Regions from separate parts of the Homo sapiens genome. Here region 2 is linked to region 1. The links are contacts of gene promoters, found by promoter capture Hi-C in blood cells and fetal thymus (Javierre and others, 2016). All regions are on one chromosome and are shown on one strand. The core of a region is centred on a gene start or on the middle of the fragment in contact, and the rest is flanking DNA. Distances in the headings are between cores, read along the strand shown.

Evidence for each region. The method cuts DNA at HindIII sites, captures the fragments that hold promoters and counts their contacts. A CHiCAGO score of 5 or more calls a contact.
Region 2: a contact is called between a fragment that was not itself captured here and the fragment with the promoter of TOP1 in region 1, in 1 of 17 cell types (endothelial precursors). The highest score is 5.8, in endothelial precursors.

Annotation. Positions count from the first base shown.
Region 1 is chr20:41,025,857-41,031,237 of GRCh38, reverse strand. It overlaps TOP1 (DNA topoisomerase I), which reads right to left and starts at 2,416. Exons shown (of 21, transcript NM_003286.4): 1 at 2,138-2,416; 2 at 1,783-1,807. The coding sequence starts at 2,170. RefSeq lists silencers at 2,076-2,145, 2,366-2,717. The HindIII fragment of the contact is 6,355 bases long and covers 1-3,365 here.
Region 2 is chr20:39,022,850-39,027,815 of GRCh38, reverse strand. It overlaps DHX35 (DEAH-box helicase 35), which reads right to left. Exons shown (of 22, transcript NM_021931.4): 17 at 4,049-4,126; 18 at 2,457-2,586. Among named protein-coding and RNA genes, the nearest start is that of DHX35, 63 kb to the right of the region's middle. The HindIII fragment of the contact is 743 bases long and covers 2,499-3,241 here.

The DNA.
Region 1 (5,381 bases), core at 1,167-3,666:
AACATGTCTATACTGTGGCTTTCTAAACTGCAGGCCTCACCTCCTCCCTCTTTTAAAATCGTGATAGGTTGGTTAAACGTACTTAAGAAACACTCCAACCCCTGACAATTCTCTGCGCCCAGTCTTCCACAACCCCCAGCTCAGAAGTCACCTCCTCTGAGAAATTTCCCCACCCTCAGACAAAATTAACTCCCCTATACTTCAAAGCATTTTGGGTACACATATGCCCCAGTAGTTACCTTATAATTAACTAATTATGTCTCCCCCAATAGACTGAATTGAGAGCAAGGGAGTGTTATGGTTACAGGATCAGCTCTAGCACCAAGCACAGTGGTTGGCACATATCTGGTGCTCAAGAAATGCCATACTTTAAACCAGATTCTCTCCTGGCTGAGTACCATCTCCTGCTGGATGCCCCACTTCAAACTCTGAACATAAGGTTGCTCTCAGTAGAGCAGGCTAACATGATGGACTGCTGATTACAACATTAGAAAACCTACTCATCAACTTCTCCCATTGGAGAGGTTCCCGGAACCCAAACTCAATTGAGCAGGATTATGTACCATCAAAATCAGTGGGAATTCCCAGCACACTACAGAAGGTAACTTCTCCTTCAACAGGGTTGTTCGAAAGCCTGCAAGGATGAGCTTTTTATTGGAGGACTCTTCCCTGGGTAACTGAAGTGGAAATACAGTAAGAATAAATGCCTTGATTTGGCTGAAAAGGGTTCAAAAACATAAAGAATTGGGAAAAAAAAAAAAAGCCAGTTCTTGATTCCTGAAAAACAGTGGCTCGTGAAAAAGAATGAACAGGAAGCAGGGGTGGGTACTGGACACTCTTTGCTTCAATAAATAAAATCTTTTTTTCCTCCTTACAACCCAAACGAAAAGGCCAACACACCAGGTCCACAAGAGATGCTCAACAATCTTTCCTTCCAACAAGTACACTAAACTGCGTTTCCAGAAAAACACTGCATTGGGAACCTCGACCACAATGAAAAGTTCCAGTGACTAACATAATTTTTTAAAAATCCAACATTTACATTGGGTGACCCACAGAGAACTTGCAAACTTTCTTTAGGGAGGTACTGCTACCTTTGCAAAGAACGTAACTTGGGAAAAACAACCTGGAAATATAAAGAACTCCACAAAGCGTGGCTTTAGTTTTAGAGCCATAATTCCTATCATAAACAGCCTATCAAAAAAAAAATTAACAGTTGCTTAAGGAAATCTTTCATTCTGGAAGCAGAAAAGGAAACAAACATGAAGCATAAAGGGAATAACCCCCAAAATAAAGTTTAAAAAATAATAATTCAGTCCCCCAGCCTTCCCTCTCTGGTGAAGTATGTGATTTATACGGCTTTGCTCTGCAGAAAGCTCATTCTGGGCAGCTCAAGGAAAGAGCCGAGGGAGGGAGAGAAAGAGACACAGGCACAGAAAGGAGAGGAGAGAGAAAAAGAAAATGGCGCAGAGACTAAGTCCCGACCGTCGACAAGGCGACTTTCCCGGGAGGAATCCCGGCCCGGAAAGACCGCCCGAGGCCCGGTGGCGGACGACACGGGGTCTCCGTTGTCCCCTCTTGGGAGGGCCGGGATCTGGAGGAGCTGGGGTCCCCGGAAAGGGGGTCAAGAGGCGGCCCGATGGGAACAATGGGGCCGGTGAGCGAGGAGCCGGGACTTAGTCTCTGGGACGCCATGTCTGTCCTCTGCCCGGCACCGGCAGGGCGCGGGGGAGGCGGCCGGCGGCTGGGGGGCCCCGGAGTCGGCGCAGGGGGCACACTCACCATTCAATCGGAAATCCGCTTCGATCTGGAAAAAGAAAAGGAGAGAATATCAAACAACAGCCACTTTAACCCCTCCGGCGGCGAGCGCGCGCGGCCGGGGTCTGGCTCACCCTGCGCCCCCGGGGAGGACGGGGACCCGGGGGTGGCCACAGAGGGCAGCCATCCCTGCCTCGAACTGTAACTTCGCGGCCCTCGCTCGCGGCCTAGCGAGCCGATCTACTCCGGCAGGCGGCCCCTCACCGGGGGCTCCGGCCTGTCAAAGCTGCCGGGCCGGGGCTGGGGTCGGGGCCTGCGCCGGGGGTCGCGGGACGGCCAGGCCGGGGTCCGGGGCCGCCAGGGTCAGGCCGGGCCGTACCTGGGAATCGTTGTGGAGGTGGTCCCCACTCATGTCGGCCCGGAGGGACGAGCGCGGCGGCAGGCGAGGCGGCGTGGGGGAGACGCAGACGGCGAACCGGCCTGTGCGGGCGGACGGGGACTCCGGAGGCTCGAGGAGGCGCAGGTAAGCGGCGGTGACTGTGGGCCCGAGACTCCAGAAACGGCTGAGGCTGCTACCACGGCGGCGACGCTGCCTGACTGCCGGGCGGGCGGCGAGAACAGACCCCAGCAGTTGTGTAACAGCCTAAGTTCGCATTTGGGCTCACTGCGCCTGCGCGGCCGCTTTTAAACAACACGTCGGCGACGTCAGCGCTCGCGGAAAGAGGCAGAGGGTTGCGGCCCGCCCCCTCGCTGTTCGCCAGACGGACCTGTCTTTGCATCGCAAGCCCCGCCTCCGGACCGTGCGCGCTCCGCTGTGATTTGCATAAGGAGCCGACTCCTCCCACGGCGTCCCACCCCAAGCAGCCTCCCCTTCCTCTCCAGACGCTTTTTCTCGGAACCCCAGCCCCTCTGCTAGGCAGTGCGCAGGCGCCACCCGGGCACCGCCTCCGGACCAGGGCTGGCCGCGCAGCCACGTGGTGGGCCTTTAAAGGCCGCGGCGGGACCCAGCAATCTTGGGCAGAGCTGGTATCCGGCGTCCGCATCTCCTTGGAGCGGCGAGTACCTTGGCAGCTGGGACCCCAGAGGTCTCCCCAGCGCCTCCTTTCTTGCTAAGCCGACCCTGAGGCCGCCTGGTGGGAGGAGTCCCCTCCCCAGCCTTTGTCCAGGCCCTCCAACTTCTGGATTATTTCACGCCCACTTTTTAAAAATTATTTTAATTTTTCAACCAACCAAGGGTCCGGTTTAACCCCAGTTTTCCGCCGAGTACATGTAGCCCTGGGTCACCAAGGGTCTGATTTCTTTGGTTCATTCTACAAATACTTATTGAGCATCCGCTATGAGCCCAGGAATTGTGCTGAGGGAAGGGGGAATGCAAGAGACCAAAGGGAACTGAACCTGTCTCTATCCGCCCCTGTATCCCTGGCATGCTGGGAGGACGGGGCAAATGGGGAATAGAACTACCGTTTATAGAGCATCTATTCTGTGCCCAGCTCTGAATTCTCACAATAGCTCTGTGAGGTCGCCTGTATTACAAAAGTCAAACTGTCCTAAAGACAAGGGACCAACAGCCAGCTACCTTGCATCTATAGTTGGATACCTCTCAAGCTTCTCTGGGAATGAACTGAACTCCACTCAGCTAGAAAAAGCCCCATCCTGACACCTTCCTTTCCCTCATTTCCCACTAGTCCCGCTGATTGCATCTCTTTGCTTCATCTACTTCTCTCTGCTGCCCATAAGCCTTTGAAGTCTGCGTTCTCCTGCTTGGATTAATACAATGTGCTGGCTGGGGGTGGTGTCTCACACTTGTAATCTTAGCACTTTGGGAGGCCGAGGCTGGCAGATCACTTGAACCCAGGAGTTCAAGACCAGCCTGGGCAACATGGCAGAACCCTGACTCTACAAAAAAATACAAAAACTGGCGGGGTGTGGTGGCATGTGCCTGTAGTCCCGGCTACTCGGGAGGCTGAGGTGGGAGGATCACCTGAGCCCGAGGAGGAGGTCGAGGCTGCACTGCACTCCAGCCTGGGCAACAGAGTGAGACCTGGTTTAAAAAAAACAAAAAACAAACCAACAAAAAACACCGCACTCCAAAACACTACACTTCTAACAGGGATTGCTGCTTCCATTCTTGGCCCTCTCGTAAACTGCATTCCAACAATTGCCAAAGTGATCTTCTCAATATGCTAATCTAACCATTACTCCTTTGTGGATATTGCCACATCTATTACCACTTTCACTATTATTATTTCATATTTTAATTGATCTCCTTTTTATTTACCTTCATCCTAAGTGTTATCTGTGAAATAATATCTATGAAATCATTTGGAAGTAAATATGAAAACTGTTCATCCAGTGGACCATCAGTATCTTTATCACATCTAATGTTTACCATCACATGTTTACCATTAGATGTGTTTACCACATCTTGTGAATGCTTCAAGATCAACCTAAATATCACTTTTTCAAAGTGACTCTCCGGCGCACTACTGACCCTGCTTCCACTGGCTGACCAAGGGTGCCTTATAGGCCAGGCGCGGTGGCTAACGCCTGTAATCACAGCACTTTGGGAGGTCAATGTGGATCAATCACTTGAGGTCAGGAGTTCAACAACAGCCTGGCCAACATGGTGAAACCCTGTCTCTACTAAAAATACAAAAATTAGCAGAGTGTGGTGGTTCACACCTGTAATCCCAGCTACTCGGGAGGCTGAGGCAGGAGAATCGCTTGAACCTGGGAGGCAGAGGTTGCAGTGAGCCGAGACCGCACCACTGTACCCCAGCCTGGGCAACAGAGCGAGTGAGTCTCAAAAAATAAATAAACAAATAAAAATAAAAGGTGCCTTATAGTATCTATCTCCTTTGTAACACTTATGACACTTGTTATTAAGTTACAAATGTAGTAATTGGTTTCCTGTCTATTTCCCCTATAGCAAGCAAGGTCTGTGAGAGGGGGGAATCTTGTCCATCTTGCCTACCACTGAATTCCCAGCACCCAGCAACAGGCCCTCCTACAGAAGAGGTGCTCAAGAAATGGGCAAATCAAAGCAGGTTACCCTGCTTTGGTTAGGAGCACACATTTGGAAGTCAAATCAACTTAGGTTTGAATTCTGCTCTGCTGTTTGTTACCTGTGTGATATCAGGCAAGTTGTTTAACTTCTCTGAGTCCCTGTTTCCTCATCCACTCCATGGTGATCATTGTGGGTATGTAATGACTATCAAAAAATAATGGTTTGAGGGCAGGCACCTAGTAAGTGCTGAGTCTTGGATTCATACTCAGGTCGGCCTGACTCCAAAGCTATACTCTTTCTCTGAAGCAAGCTGCCAGAGCCAGTTTTGCCTTGCTGTTGGTGTCTCTTCTCATACTCTTCCCATCTCAGGATCAATCCCTGGCCAGAAGATGAGGCATCTGCTTGCTGCAGTGAGTCCAAGATAATTTGAGGACGGCCTTCAGGAATAACAATGCATCCACACTACTCCACTCTCCCAACCCCCCGTTTCCCAGGGAGAATCTGCATTTGCTTTTTTTTCTTTTTTTTTTTTTTTTTGAGATGGAGTCTCTGTCACCCAGGCTGGAGTGCAGTGGTGCCATCTGGGCTTACTGCAACCTCCGCCTCCTGGGTTCAA
Region 2 (4,966 bases), core at 1,621-4,120, 2.0 Mb after region 1:
GGTTAATGACATATCACATCTCATCAATTTTAAGACTCGCTCTTTTTCTAACTTTAATTCACTGAAATTAGGACAGCATTTTACAATGATAACTGGCAGCATTTTTTTTCTTTGGTGACACATAAAATAACGATGTTTCTTACACATGATGGTATCTTAGATCCAATGGAATAAAGCATGTTGGTAAGTAAGTTCCATAAAGGTGGTACTATTTCCAAAGCCATCAACAATATATAAAAATGGCAGTTTCACTGCATTCTTACTAGCAATGTTTTGGCAAAAAGTGTTACCTTCTGTTACCTTCTTTTATATTACATTTATTTGATTACTATCGGCATATTTCTTCTTTTGTGAATTTTTTGTTCTAATCCTTAGCCCATTTATCAACCTGAAAACTGTTTTTTCCTAAATATATTAAATAAAATCATTCTATAATAAAGTTTTTAATCTTTATCATTTATCTCATGACTGCTGAAAGTATCTTTCACTAATTGCTTTCTATTTTTTAACCCTTAGATGTTTTAAATTTGCATGTAATTTATTTAGTCTCCATGATTTTCTGTATTTTTCCTAAGCACTGAGCTGATAAAATCTCAAATCTACATGTCTAAATATGATCTAATCCGATATCCAGTCTCTTCTCTCCTATTGTCCATAAGAAATTTCCATGTAAAATATGCACTCTAAACAGGGGTGATATCACTTCCAAAGGGGTGGAAACTGGTTCTTGGAGGCAGGGGGAGGGGAGCATCTTAGACACTACAATGGCCGGTAGCCCTCCAAAGCTCAATCCTACCCTACAAAATCTTATTCCTTAGTATTTAATTTCTCAGGCTGGGTAGAATTTAAATTTAACTTTTCTCCTGGGCAGGGGTCTGATAATGAAACACAGGTGAAGAACACCAATTGCTGAAGTAAGGCTGTCATCTACCTGCTGGGTGACAGGCGTTTGACGAGCTGCTCTCCAACTAGGTGCTCCTTGTAAGCATCCTGTTTCTATCAATGACTCCAACATGGCTCAATGGCCCAGGTTTCAACTCTTCCCTCTCTCGTGAGTGTATTCACCCATCAAATATTCTCTGAGCGTCTCATATACTCCTCACTCCAAGCACTTGTCTCCAGTCCTCCTTCCCTAGAGTGCTCTTTGCCACCATTTTCTAATTCAACCAGACCCCAAAGCTTGACCGGACTCCCACCACACCTCAAGGAAGCTGAAAGACTTCCCAAGCTAGCCCTCTCTGGATTCCTTCTTCCCGGCATTCCTTCCACATCTGCCAGCACGTCTTCTATGATTACTAAAGTATCTACTACTTTAACTTCGAAGAGGACTGATAATCTTAGTACTTTGTCTATCCATATGAATCTCTCCCTTCATTACACTGTTCCCTTAGAGTAAAAGCCAAGACTCCGTCATTGTTTAATCACTTGCTCTTAGTATAAAGACAAAAGAAGACTTAAATGGAACCGCCTGGGCTCAGGTTCTGACTCCATCATACCCTCACTGTGTAACTTCAGCAAGTTACATTTTACCTCTTAGCCACGCTTTTCTCACCTATAAGATGGGGAAAAGAGCACACGTTTCACAGCGTTGTTGTGAGCATTAAATTAATAAACACATGGAACACTCAGTGCACTGTCTAGCCACTTATAAGCACTCAGGAAATGTTACCAAGTACTAATGGTGCTGAGGATGTGGCTGAGTACCTGGCACACTAGGCTTTCAGGCTGACTGCTGAGGCGGGTGTGTCACTTCCTTAAAAGCGTAGACTTCTGAGCCACATACAGATCTGGCTCTCCTCCTTACCAGTTGCGTGGTCCTGAATTTAATCTACCTTCTCCCTAGGATCTTACGACTAATTGTAAAATGAGGATAACATTACCGACACCTCACAGAGTGCGAGATTGAGCAAGAGAATATTTGGAGAACCCCTGCCACAGCGTAACCTACTGTGTCCCTGATTAATAGTAGTCACTGTCACTGCTAGAGGCCAGAGACTACGTCTTACATAGTACTTTTCTGTCTTACCTTTAGTGGCTGCCTAGGCTAAATATCCAGCACTTGCTTTAATAATACTTGTCTTTGAATATAAAATTTAATTTTTATGTAATAGCTACTAATATCACTGATCAAAAAGTAATTTTTCTTGCAAAGCCTACATGGGAAAATCAATGACATGATGTGCACTGATGTGACTGTTAGTGATTCTTAAGTATTGTCATGGGCTATGAAATTCCTTTAGTAAGAATGCCCATCAGAAAGAAAAATAGACCTCCTTGGAAAAAATACGCAACTTGACCTTCAGCTTTTCACAGATGCAGGCAACTCAAAATATAAAACCCAGTGTTGGTACAGAGCACGCCACACTGCCTCGCACCAGCCCAGCATGAGAACTTTAGGAAGACAACTCAACAGAATGAAGCAAGGGAGGTCACCAGCTGGGACGGTTTCTTCTCACCTTCACTAGACTTCCTGGGCACTTGAAACTTGACAAGAAGCTTTTTCAATTGTTCTCTTACAGTCGCAGCTCTGACAAGACCCTTGTAATTCAGGAAATGTTCCTGACACCATTTAGAGTCCTTATTGTGCTACAGAACAACCCAGAGAGAGGGAGTTAGAAAACAGATATGTTCTCGACTAAGGCTATGTTGTAAAGATCATTCTTCTCTCTTCCCCCATGTGCTGTTCAACGGCATAAGATCTAAAGATGGGAACTGGCCCTTTTTTGCCCCATCTCTCAAAACAGATGTTAACAACCTTGCACACATCTGACTGCTCTGCAACCTCACTCTTTACACTAAAGGGCAAATGAGAACTTAATGACACGCAGAAACGGTTTCAATCTTACATACCTTCATGAGATGTGAACTATCAGAAAGAACCATTTCTCCACGTGGTTCTTTGTAAATCAACTTTTCTTCTTTGGCATGCTTGAATGTATCACTTTATTATACTAGAAGCCAACAATATGACACTTGCCAATGTAGAAATAATTTACAAATTACTATTATTTGTCCCCAAAGCATGATTTTTCTATCAACAGTATTTAATTTTTTCTGCATTCATAAGTATGATCATTATGTCTTAGAGTAAATTATTGCTGTGGAAATGTACCTCTGAAATTCTATTGTAAGTTAAAGTGCTTTAAAAAAGAAAATGTAATTAATAGAAGATATTCCAAGAAGGCAACCATAGAATAATACAATGTAGACCTATACCCACTTTCTAGTGGTAGAGAAAGCTTCAGACTGCAGATGATACATTGTGCCTGTACAAATGAATTTTAACTGATTTAAGCCGTAAGTCTCAAAAAGAGTGAATTTCTTTTTTCTGAAAACTTTTCACCAACTGAATAATCTTCCTCAAATCACTGGTAAACAAAAATTTAGTATTTCTTCACTTCTAAAAGAGTATTTAAGAAATGAGTATTAAAAATCTGAAGTATTATACCCTTTCTTTTATGTAAGGTTACTTTTTTCATCATTTTCATCACCTTTATTAACAATTTTTCATGAGAACTTTAAGCTGTATTATTTGCTTAGTTTTAAAGAATATTAACAATAAAAAATTAACATCACTTATAGCTAAATATGGGTGGGATATGTGAATATGCACAGATCTCAACTAAATGTCTTCTCATGGCAGCTGGGACAGCTTTGAAGATTCAACCCAGGACTACAAGTTGCTCTCAGCCTCATTCACCTGGCAGAAAATGTAACAGAACTTCCTATTCAAATGTTGCCTTTCTGTCTACTGCACAGTGGATGTGAGATGACGTGAGGCTGGGCCACTGGCCTGCCACTAGTGTACCATATCTCCAAGCAAGGGAAAGCAATGAATGATTCCTGTGTTCTTCTCAGCAATACCTCACCACAAACTCAGGCAGAAAGCCCGACCCACCAGTTAGAAGTACTGGCAATAAATCTAACAGGAAAATCAAGGGCTCTCTTGGACATTCCTTTACGAACTGAACTTCTGGGATCCTCCCTCCTAGATCACCTCCAGAGGGTGGTGTGTTGAGGCGGCACTTCGAGCAGTAGTTGTGCTTACTTTGATAAATGCTTCATATATATTGAGCATAGTGAGGTGGTCGCCCTCCTCCACAGCAAATTTACGGTGCACTCGAATCTGGAAAGAATGAAGCAACATTCAGAATTTCACTCTTTGCTGGGTGTGGTGGCTCACACCTATAATCCCAGCATTTGGTGAGGCTAAGGTGGGAGGATTGCCTGAACCCAGAAGTTCGAGACCAGCCTGGGCAACATAGGTAAACCCCATGTCTACAAAAGCTAAAAAAAAAAATCAGCAGGGCATGGTGGTGTATGCCTCTAAGCCCCAGCTACTAGGCTGAGGTGGAAGGATCGCTTGAGCCCAGGAGCCATGTTTGCACCACTGCGCTCCAACCAAGGCAACAGGGCGAGACCCTGTCTCAAAAAAGAAAAAAAGAAAGAAAGAAAGAAATTGACTTTTGCACTGGAAGTAATATTGCATGGTGAATAGCGTGTGGGTTATGGATTCAGAAAGACCTAGTTTGCAGCATTCTAGCTCTGCCATATCTTGAAAGAACTCAGCTTGGTTACTTAACCTCTCTCAGCCTTGATTTCCTTATCTGTAAAATCAGGAAACTAAACCTATCAAGATTGCTGTGGATTAAGATAATTTATTACAAGGTATCTGGCAAAGAAATTTGATAAAATGTTAGTGTTCTTGTCTCTCTCCTCCTCCAGGTTAATTAAAAACAAAACTAAACAAAAACAGACATAAGCATCTGGGCACAGAGGCAGAAAAACTTTGTAATCTATAGTTATACAACTGACAAGGAGGATCCCAACAATCCCTAAGAAAGTCTCTCTCCTCCTCATTACACATACAAATTCAGCCCCTCCATGCATAAGGCTGCTAATTCTCTGACTTTCAAACAGGAACTGACTTTGAACTCATCTCTGACCTACCTCTATCAACACACCT